2 separate regions of the Homo sapiens genome follow, and region 2 is linked to region 1. The links are contacts of gene promoters, found by promoter capture Hi-C in human tissues and cell types (Jung and others, 2019). All regions are on one chromosome and are shown on one strand. Each heading gives the region's core, a stretch centred on a gene start or on the middle of the fragment in contact. The rest is flanking DNA. Distances are from core to core; before and after follow the strand shown. Region 1 holds the start of CRB2 (crumbs cell polarity complex component 2). Region 2 overlaps LOC105376265 (a long non-coding RNA gene).

Region 1 (5,566 bases), core at 1,765-4,264:
TCATCAGGAAAGGGTGAAATTCTCTTTTGGGCAGAATAATTTGGCATACTCTTTTTCAAAAATGTTTACCTTCTGAGGTTAAAAGACATAATTTTGATAACAGTAATTGCAACAATAGCTGTCAGGGACGGAGCACCTACCCTGTGCCTGGCACTGACCAACCCTTGAGAGTTTGGGCTCAGAGCACAGTTCCAGGGAGTTACCTCCTGAAGTGAGGGGGAGACAGAGCAGGTGGGGTTCCCCACCTGCCACCCAAACAGGCCACTTTTAACAATTTTACTATTAACTATTCATGGGCTTCCATCTAAAATTTCCCTTGAAATTGGGGGTTCCATGCCAAAACCTGGGGTGGGGAACCGCTCACTGCATTCTCTTCCAATCCTTATACCAGCGCTCGGAGTAAGCCAGTCTGTCCTCGTTTTGTAGAGACAGAGAAGAGACGTGACTTTGCCTAGGCAAGTAGCACAGTGTACTGTGAAATCCCAGCACTGGCTCTGGGGCTTCCTGGCTCTGGGACTGGCCATCTCTGGGCCTCGTTTACCTCCTCTGTAAACTAGGGGTATCAGAGCTGACTTCATAGGCTGTTGGGAGAATTAAATTAGACCTCGTTAATAATAGCACAGTGCCTGCCATGGAGTGGCTGATCTTACTCATTAACAATTCTTTACTTGAGGCAGACACCCACTGTCCAAAGGATCCTGACATTGGGTTGAATGTGTGTGGCTTTCTGCTCCATCTCTGCTTCTGTCCTGCAGGCCCCCACCCCCTTCTGGCTGGAGGAGGGGCCGGACTTGGGGCCTGGACTCACTGCCCCTTTGTCTGCTGGGCTCCCTGGGTGTTTGGGGAAGGGAGGGTGGATATGAGAGCCCAACGTGCCCCATTGTACTCCAAGATGCTTGGTCCTCTCCATGGCAACCAGCCGGGCCTTTGTGGCAAATTGGGCCCAGGATGGAGAGGCCCAGCTCAGGGCCTGGCAGGGGTGGGGAGAAAAGCCAGGGGCCCATGGCCTCCAGAAGCCCCCATCCCCTCCAGGATGGAAATTGGTTTTCAAGTGACAAAATCCCCAATCCCTCCCCTCCCGGCAGGCAGTCTAGGGTACCAGCATGCAGAAATGGTCATGCCTGCAGTGTACCCCACCAACTTTTAGGGATCCCCAGGGATGGCGCTCCCAGCACAGAAATGGCAGAGGAAAGGCTGCCCCTGGGCAACCCAGCAGGCCTGATGGGTTGAGTGTACACACCAGTGTCCAGACCCCCCACAGCCTCCATCCACTCTGTGCCTCCAGGTCCCCTGTGAGTGCACACTGAGTGTGAATGCACACATGTCCACATGTGCGTGTTGGGGTGTGCACATTGGTGTGCAGGCACATGCCATGTGTGTAGGTAGGTGCATGTGCTGGTAGATCCACATGTGTCTGTAGCACCTGTCCCTGTGGTGCTGTGTGCCCTTGGGCATGCCACACAGGTGTGCGGAGTGTGGGTGTGTGAGCATCACAGGGCAGGGGACAGAGCACCGATCCACAGACCGGGATCTCACGTGCTTTGTATGCAGAGAACAGAGAGGAGCAGCCACCCCGCCCCCCGCCACCATGCCCCACCCCTCTATGGAGCCCAAGTCGCCTGCCAGCAGAGCCCAGCTCATAAGTCCCCGTCCCTCTCTGAGCCTTGGTTTCCTTCACTGCAAAATGGGGTCCTCATCCTCCCTAGGGCCCCATAGAGAGGATAGGAAATGAAAGCTTTGTGAGTGCGGGAAACATGAGGGTCCCCAGGTGGGACTGGGAGACACTTGGCCCCCACACCCTACAGCCTGTGGAGCTCTGGGGCAGGGAGGGCTCCCCCAGCCTCAGGAGAGCCCAGGCCCTCCTTGGCTCCCTCCCCAGCCTGTGGTGGTGGGGGCAGGGGACTTCCCAGGCCCGGCCCCTGTAACTATAGTAACTAACACCAAGCGTTCCCTTGGACCCCCCAGGAGGAATTCCAGGCTCCGAGAGCTTGGACAAAAGCAAAAAGGGCTTGGCAAATGTGGTCTGGCTTCAGGGAGCCCTTTCAGATTGGCCTTGGAATGCTGGGGAGGGGGCAGCAGGGGACACACACATGTTCCCAAATCCCCAGCCACCCCACAGGGACCCAGAGCATCCCCAGCAGCCCTCAGCACAGGCAGGGCTACCGCACAAATGGAGGGGTGCGGGCAGGCACCCAGCTCCCTGAGTCTCCCTCACGCTTCTCCACTCAGTCCCGAGTTGGGGTCGGCTGTGCACATCCCACACCCCTCATGTTGAGAGCAAAGACCTAGTTCAACCCTGGACAACCTACACCCCACAGCGTGTGCTAGGACACAGCTCACCACACCCAACTCCTCGGACACAACTCACGGCTCACCCCAGACAGCTCATCCACCTCCCAACTCTAACACACCCACAACCTGTGCCCCACAACCCAGCATGCGACACAGAACAAGCTCTGGGGTGAGGCTTATGCCACCTGCAACTCCCCAAACTCAGCCCCTAGAAACCCAGAAGTCCCCCAGCCCTTTACAGGATGCAACACAGCACCTCCCAAAACACGCACCCCATCCCTCACCCGCATCAGCTCCCCCAAATCATGCCCAGCCCCCGATCCCCCAACCCCGAAACTTACAACCCCCCTCAACATGAAACAGCCCCGAGCCTCAGAACACACTCACCTCCGTGGAGCCCCACAGAGTCTGGGGGCCACAGCCGCGCACTCCTGTGCACCCCACAGCTCAGGCCTGCACCCACGCGGACCAGCCCACCCACCACCCCAGCAGCCAAGGCTTGGGGTATCTGTCTTGGGGGACAGACCCTCTCCCAGGCCCCTCCAGACATGGGCCCCAACTCACCAGCCAGGAGGGAAAGGGCAGGGGCCCAGAGCAGCAGTAGCAGGACAGAGGCCAGGGCCTGGGGGTCCGGGGTCCCAGGCCTGGCCAGCGCCATGGCAGCCCGCTCTGCGCTCTGCTCGGCTGCTGTGAGAACGGGAGGGCGGCCTGGCTGGCTCCGCACCCCCCTCGTCCCTCCAACCAGCACTAATGCTGTGGACAGAGGCCCAGCCCCTCCCTCCCCTCCCCGCCACCGCCTCCTCCTCCCACCCAGGCCTCCTGGGCTGCTCCACCTCGTGGACGTCCCTAGACATCAGCCCCAAGTCCTCAAGCCCCCTAGCCTGTGGGGCTGACCTGGTCTTGGCACCCACTGGTTTCTCCCTCCTGACCCTCTGCCCCACTCTCCTCCCACCTCTCAGGTCAGCCTCCTTGGAGAAATTTCTGTCCTTGGAGAGGGGGCTGTTCAGGACTCTCGTCTCACCAGGTGATGCCAGCTACTCCCAAGTCCTTAGTTATCCCCTCTCCTGGATCCCCCTCCCCACCTCTCCAGCCCGGGCCTCTCTCCCAAGCCCAGGCCTTCGAGTCCAGTCGCCTCCCAGACCCTGTCTCTGCTGGGAAGCTGCAGCCCCTCCCACCCAGCTCGTCCCCCCACCTGCTGCTCCCCAGTGCTCCCATCGGAGCCAAGGCACCTCCCATCGGGCAGCCCAACGCCCCCTCCCCACTCCCCCCTCCCCACACTCGGTCAGCCCCTAGCTCCTGGCCATGCCACCTTCTCAGTGTCTCCTGCTGTCCCCACCCCGTCCCACCCGACCACACACAGCTCCTCCCACCATCGGCCTCAGGATCAGCTCCCTGCAGGGCACCTCACCCCTGCACCACGGTGGTCCCTGCCTCCCTTTACCCTCTCCACCCTTCACCAGCCAAACTGAACCTTTCCCAGCTTTCTTCCACTTGACCTTGATCTCTGGCTCTGCTGTTTGCAACTCCAGCGACCTCACTGCAATCCAAAGCAGCCCATTCTACTGAAAGGCAGCTCTAACCAAGCAAGCATTGCTCTCCCCTGCCAGGAAGTCCTTCTTGTTGTCTAACCTTATAGTCTCCTGCTGCACTCGATGTTTGCTTGCTCTCCAGCTGGCCTCTTGTTGGGGTGGACAGGAGGAGCTCTTCAGGGGGACCTGGTTCAGGAAGCCAGGTCATCTCAGAGACACTACAACATAGAACAACATTCCTTTCTTCTACCACCCTCAGCCCCAGTGGGGAGAGAATCCTCTTGCTGAAGGGACTTTCCTGAAATGAGCCACCGGCCCCTGCCAATACATGCCTGTTTGTCCCTATTCAGTAACCGTGGATACAGCCCACGCAGGCCCTGGGCTCTGGGATGTGTCCCTGACACGGGAGGACACAGCCTGGAAAGACAGCAGGAGCCATTGAGGGAGGTCCAGATGAGCTAGAGGGATGGGCAAGGGTCCCCTGCAGTGCAGGGGAGGGAGCAGTGGGCACCACACAGGCCCTGGCCGACCCTCTAGCCCGGGGCAAGTGCCACAGCCCTGGGTCCCCAGGGACCAAAGGAGGGAACCCAAAAAGGCCTGGGTAGACTCCTTATCCACTGCCCCTGCCCCATCCCTGCCCTTGAGGCCTGTTCTCTCCAGGGCAGGGATTGCCCCTTGGTTTCTGGGACACTAACCTCTCTCAGTCCATCTTTAATCCCCTGCCTCTCCAATACAACAGGATCCCTCTCCCCAGGTGGGAGAAGCCCCTCTCCATGCCACAGGAAAAGCAGAGGCCTCACAGCGTAAGAGATCTGGGTTCGAGCCCAGCTCAGCCACTGATTAGCCGGTGACCTCAGCACGTGACTTCCTTCTCTGGGCCTCAGTCTCCTCACCTGTAAAATGGTGGCGTTAGTGAGCCAAGGCGACAGTGCCAGCTCTCTTTATCCAGCTTCTCAGTGATCCCCCAGAGACCCAGGCAATCCCAATGGGGGGCTGGGGGGAGCACGGCAAGTCAACCACCACCCTCTGGTTCTCTGGATGCACAGACACAAACTCCCACACTTTCACAGAGCGGGGAGGTCACCCGGCGCAGGTCCAGTCTCCTCTGCAGCCCGGCCCCCAGCACTGTCCTGCAGCCGCCACACTCCACCTTGTGGCCAGACCTGGAAGTGTCTTGTGAGGTCTGGAGGGTATGGAGGGGGGCTCCCCCGACAGCACCGGGTACAGGAGTCCCACGTGACGGGGAGGAAGCCAGGGAGTCGCTGGACAGCAGGCAGGACGGAGGTCAGACAAGGGCACACCATCTTGACCGCTCCCTGGTCCGGATCTGGAGAAGGCAGTAAGAGTGGGCCAGCTCCTCTGAGATGGTCCCCCAGGTGCATCCACTTCCCCTGTCCTCCCCACCTGGGAAGGGAATCGACATAACCTCAGTTTACCCCCCCCCCACCCACCAGCAGCACTGCAAAGTCAGCATTGGCCCCATTCTATGGATGAGGAAACCGAGGCACAGAGAGGTGAGCAGCCCAGCACCAGTGCCTGGCAGGATTCGAGTTGGGTCTGCCCGACTCCAGCCTTTCCACTGGTGAACCTCCGACTGCAGGTTACTAACTGCCCCTCCACTAGCCTGAGCATGACTTGCTGCCACCTCCCTGGCTGAGGGGACGCTGTCCTGGGCCGGGATTCCCACCAACTCTCAAGCTGATGGGCACATGCGACAGCAAGGTTCAGTGGTTGGGAGTCCCAGC
Region 2 (5,632 bases), core at 2,698-5,197, 53 kb after region 1:
ACCTTGGCTGGGTGTCTCATGCCTGCTCTTGGGTGAACTGTGAGTTGCAGGTCTCTCAGGGAGTCTGTCTCCTGTTCTGCAGGGTGAGGGATCTCTAGGTATAAACTCCATCAAGGTGAGTAGATTGTAGGTAAACTGTGCAGTTGCCAAACCCAGCTGGAAAAATCCTAATTTATGAATCCTTCCAATGCCCTCTTCTCCCATCTGCCTGTTAGACCCTATGCTCTGGGGCCTGTTCAAACTGGGTCCCCATCCTAGCCCTCTAATCGCTTGCTGTGTCTTTGGCTGAGTTGCTGAACCTCTCTGGGCCTCAGGTTCTCCAACTGTGAAAAGGAGATAATGATCCTTTTCTCATAAGGTGTGATAAGGATGGAATTAATTTTTTTTTTTTTTGAGACAGAGTCTCACTCACTCTGTTGCCCAGGCTGGAGTGCAGTGGCATCATCTTAGCTCACTGCAACCTCCACCTCCCAGGTTCAAGAGATTCTCCTGCCTCAGCCACCCAAGTAGCTGGGATTGCAGGCGTGCACCACCATGCCCAGCTAGTTTTTGTATTTGTAGTAGAGACAGGGTTTCACTATTTTGGCCAGATTGGTCTTCAACTCCTGGCCTCTAGTGATCCACCCACGTTGGCCTCCCAAAGTGCTGGGATTAGGTGTGAGCCACCGCTCCTGGCAAGGATGGAATGAAATTTGTCTGGTATGCACTAATGTTGGCTCTCTCTCCCCATGATCCCAAATGTCCCTCCAGGAAAGCAAGATCTGACCCACAAGGTCCATCCTGGCTGGACTGAGAGCTACGAGGCAGTGGAAAGAATACTGCACTTGGGGTCAGACCAAGTGACCTAATTTGAAGTCCCAGCTCTGGCTCGTGATCTTGTGCAGACTCATCTAACCCACACCTTCCCATGCCACCCAGGCTGGGGTGAAGTGAGGAGCACATGGGATTATGGGTAAGAAACTGCTTAGAAATCTGGAAGGCAGCCAGGTGCAGTGGCTCACGCCTGTAATCCCAACATTTTGGGAGGCCGAGGCAGGTGGATCACCTGAGGTCAGGAGTTCAAGACCAGCCTGGCCAATGTGGTGAAACCCTGTCTCTACTAAAAATACAAAAATTAGCCAGGCATGGTGATGGGTGCCTGTAATCCCAGCTACTCAGGAGGCTGAGTCAGGAGCATCATTTGAACCTGGGAGGCAGAGTTTATTACAACAACAGAGTGAGTGAGACTCTGCCTCAAAAAAAAAAAATTCATTCTATCCTTATCACACCTTATAAGAAAAGGATAGTTATCTCCTTTTCTCGGTTGCAGTGAGCCGAGATCACACCATTGCACTCCAGCCTGGGCGACAGAGTGGAACTCCGTCTCAAAAAAGAAAGGAAAGGAAAAGAAGGGAAGGGGAAGGGGAAAGGGAAAGGAAAAGGAAGGAAAGGAAAGGAAGAAAGAAATCTGGAAGGGGCTGTGTGGCTGGGAGTGTCTACTGTCACGCCTGCCCTCCCAGTGACTGTGTGGCCCAACAACCCTCATCCAGCACTTCACCCCCGGCTGCTCCTACAGCACCCCCCACCCAGCTCCTCAAACTCACTGCTCACAGGTGGGCAGGCTCCAGGACCCTCCCTCTCTGCTGCCCCATTTATCTTCCTTTCTCTACATCCTCCCAGCAGACTCAGCAGATCCTTTCCTAGCCCAAAGCAGCTTTGAAGAGCCATCGTGAGCCAATGGGCGGAGCTAATAGTCTCCTATCCTCGACTTGCAGGGGGTGAGTACAGCTCTCCCAAGGGACTGGGAGGGGCCTCTCCATCATTCCTCACTCAGCTTCTTGTTTTTTTGGTGGGGCGGGGGCCCTGGGGCAAGTTCCTTTTGCCCTCTGTGCTTCTGCTGCCTCATCTGTAGGTCAACAGTGACAGTAGCACCTACCTTGTAAGTGTCTGGGTAGATTAAACAAGCGTCACGTGTAAGGAAGTTAGCTCAGAGTCGGGCACATAGTTAGTTATTATTGTTGCTTATTCATTCAGCTGTTCTCATGCAGTCACTCACAGGACACCTTCTCTCTGCTGCTGCTAGGGGCACAATGAATCAGACAGAGACCTCACCCTTGCAGAGTTCGCAGTCCGGGAGGCAGGCAGACAAGACCACAGTTGCAAGGTGATAACAGCGGGTGGCTGTTGTGGGAGCCACTGCACAAAGTGATAAGAGAAGAAGGGTGAAGTGGGAGGATCGCTTGAGCCCAGGAAGTCAAGGCTGCAGTGAGCCAAGATCGTGCCACTGCACTCCAGCCTGACAACAGAATGAGACCCCGTCTCAAAAAAAATAATAATGATGATAAAATAAAATTTAAAAAGAGAGAGGAAGGGTGCTGGTGGGAGTCCATGGGAGAGAGGCCCTAACTCTTCTGGGGTGGTCAGGCGAAGCCTCCCAGAGGGAGAACGTTTAGCTGGGCCTCGAAGGAGGTGTAGGAGCTCACTGCTAGTGGAGAAGAGACCTGGAAGAGGGCAGTTCAGGGATGGAATAGCACAGCAAAGGCACAGAGGCTGGGAGAGTGGGGGCCTGTCTGATCCCCTCCCACTCATCTGGAGCCTGCCTATGGGGTCCTGCTGCAAGCATCTGTGACTCTCACACCACAGGTGTCCTTCAGCCTGAGCCAGGAGCAGGCCACAGGTGTAAACACCCCAGGAACTGCCCTGAGCCAGGTGAGTGGGAGACGGGAGGTAAATACTTCAGCATCCTTTACTTTCCAGGTGGGACAACTAGAAGTTGTGCTTTCTCCCATTTCCTAGAGGACCTCAGCAGGATGGAGCCGGAGGTGCTCAGAAAGGTGGCTACCCTCAAACGTACTCTGTGTTAGCGTCCACCTCCCAGATATGCCGTTTAGACCCCACCCTTTCCCCAGGGTCTGTTTCCTGGCAAACCTGTGAACCCGGCCTAACACGTCAAGCTCTATAAGCGTGAACTAGGCAGGTCAGTTGCCCAGAATCCTTCTGTGTTCCATCCTTCTGGCTACTGGATTCGTTTTTCTGGTAGTTACTGAGCATGCGTCCATGGCCAGCCCCAGATTAGACATTGAGGGAGATTCAAAGAAGTGGAGAAAATAGTCCCACAAGGGGCTATTGGAGGAGATGAGACATATCTGGGAAAAAGAGAAAATACGGAAAAAGCAAGAAAGGCGGAGTTCACTTGGGGAAGAATAAGAAGGTTGGTGCATGAGATCCTAGGGGATTGCCACAGAGAGAAGTGGGGAAGGGAAGCTGAAAGGACAAAGGGAGGGTCTCGCTCTGTCACCCTGGCTGGAGTGCAATGGCATGATCTCGGCCCACTGCAACCTCTGCCTCCCGGGTTCAAGTGATTCTCGTGCCTCAGCCTCCTGAGTAGCTGGGATTATAGGTGTGCGCCACCACGCCAGGCTAATTTTTGTATTTTTAGTAGAGATGGGGTTTCACCATATTGGCCAGGCTGGTCTCAAACTCCTGGACTCAAGTAATTCTCCTGCCTTGGCCTCCCAAAGTGCTGGGATTACAGGCATGAGCCACCGCACCTGGCCTGCGACTTCATTTGGACCCTGAGGCCTGGAGTGCCTCGTCTGAATGCTTCTCAGTGGGGAGCCGTGGAAGGGTTTTGGGACAGGAACAATCTGTGTGTTGAAAGGACACTTTGGGTTCAAATGGAGGATGACAGGACAGGGAGAGGCCCAAGTCAGGGAGGCCCAGGAGCAGACTGTTGGAGGAGTCTTGGCCAGGCCAGCTGTGACTCCAGCTCAGCCAGCCCAGGTTCCTCCAAGACCTCCCCCTCAGACTCTGGAGGGCCATCTTCTCATAAGTGCTCGGGACGCTTCCTGCCTTCCCACCCTTCCTTTCAGACCTGCTTCCTGCTTGGCCTCCAAGCCTATTCTTCCTCTTACCTTCTCCCATTATCTCTGACTTCAGAATGTTTGCTTTGGCTCCCACTGTCTCCCCTCTGCTCTCTCCTGCGGTTAGTGTTGGATACTCAGCAAAATCTCTCCTTCCTACAAGCCAGCGCAGACCCATCGGGGCAGGGATTGTCTTCTTTCTACTTTAAGTAAACGGAATTGGAGCAACCTTGGCCTTGGAAGACAGACTTTGTCTTCTAACGACTTTCCTTCAAAACCACAAATGCATTTTGTCTCGACTTGAGGTGGTTCTTGCCTCTCATCTCAGCAACCTCAGGGTGAGCGTGAAGCAGCCTCTGGCAGCCTGAAGATTTCACAGCGGATGCTGTGCTTTTGTGAAAAGTCGATTTCTCTGCAAACCAGCCGAGAGGGCAAAGATAGTGCAGTGCTCCTTCCATTCAACAGACGTCTATGAGCCAGGCCTTGAGCTGTGTTGTGGGGAGTCGCTGAATAAGGTGTCTGCTCTCCAGGCCCGCATGGGCTGATAGGGAAGATGAACAAGGAGACTGTCCACAGGAAAAGCTTGTACAAAGTACCCTGTGGTCTCAGTGGAGGTGCAATGCCGTCCACACTGACCTTGCATTTGCATGTGGCACCAGAGCTGTGCCACCTTGGGGAAGCTATTGAACCGCTCCCTGCCTCAGTTTCCTCACCTATGAAATAAGCATAATGAGGGTTCTTCTCTTCTAGGTTTGATGTGGGGATTACACAAGGCACATGGGAAGTGCTTAGCATGGAATCTGGAGAAGGAAATGCTCGCTATTCTCTCTTTTAAAAACATTCTCCCAGCACTTTGGAGGCGGAGGCGGGCAGATCGCTTGAGGTCAGGAGTTCAAGATCAGCCTGGCCAACATGGTGAAACCCTGTCTCTACTAAAATACAAAAATTAGCCGGGCGTGTTGGTGGGTGCCTGTAGTCCCAGCTACGCAGGAAACTAAGGCAGGAGAATCGCTTGAACCCGGGAGGCGGAAGTTGCAGTGAGCTGAGATCGCACCACTGCACGACAGCCCGGGTGACAGAGCAAGACTTTGTCTCAAAAACAAAAACAAACCATTCTCCTATCATTTAAATTCTTCCTTAAAGTGTACAATTCAGTGGTTTTTATTCTATTCATAAGGTTGTGCACCCATCATCACTATTTCCAGATCATTTTCAATACCCCAAAAGAAACCTTGTACCCATTAGCTGTCCCTTCCCCCAATTTCCCCTGCTCCTACTTTCTGTCTCTGTGGATTGGCCTATTCTGGCCAATCATAAAAATGGAATCATACAGTATGTGACCTTTCGTGCCTAGCTTCTGTTTTCAAGATTCTTCCATGTCATAACACTCATCAGTACTTCATTCTTTTTTATGGCTGAATAATATTCTATTATGTGGAAATACTGCATTTTGGTATCCGTTCATTGGTTGGTGGCTTTGGGTTATTTCCACTTTTTGACTACTGTGGATAACGCTGCTATGAACAGTCGTGTAAAAGTTTTTGTGTGAACATGTGTTTTCATTTCTGTTGGGTGTATACCTAGGAGTGCATCCGCTGGGCCATACAGGGATGCTATGTTTAACTTTTAGATGAACTGCCAGACTGTTTTCCAAAGTCACATACCTGCTTTTTTTTTTTTTTTTTTTTTTTTTTTTTTTTTTTTTTTTTGACAGGGTCTCACTCTGTTACCCAGGCTGGAGTGTGCAGTGGCACAATCACAGCTTACTGCAGCCTCAACTTCTTGGGTTC

What was found. Contacts are between HindIII fragments. The study calls those that stand out against the background at their distance.
Region 2: a fragment that was not itself captured here is called in contact with the fragment with the promoter of CRB2 in region 1 in 3 of the 25 tissues and cell types used here (adrenal gland, aorta and liver).

Annotation. Positions count from the first base shown.
Region 1 is chr9:123,353,645-123,359,210 of GRCh38, reverse strand. CRB2 (crumbs cell polarity complex component 2) reads right to left here and starts at 3,014. Exons shown (of 13, transcript NM_173689.7): 1 at 2,857-3,014. The coding sequence starts at 2,950. RefSeq lists enhancers at 666-1,333, 4,714-4,883, 4,552-5,051 and silencers at 5,014-5,063, 5,084-5,193. The HindIII fragment of the contact is 16,000 bases long and covers 779-5,566 here.
Region 2 is chr9:123,301,339-123,306,970 of GRCh38, reverse strand. It overlaps LOC105376265 (a long non-coding RNA gene), which reads left to right. Exons shown (of 4, transcript XR_930331.3): 2 at 751-952; 3 at 1,660-1,757; 4 at 2,063-2,146. Among named protein-coding and RNA genes, the nearest start is that of STRBP, 36 kb to the right of the region's middle. RefSeq lists an enhancer at 1,966-2,015. The HindIII fragment of the contact is 3,759 bases long and covers 2,068-5,632 here.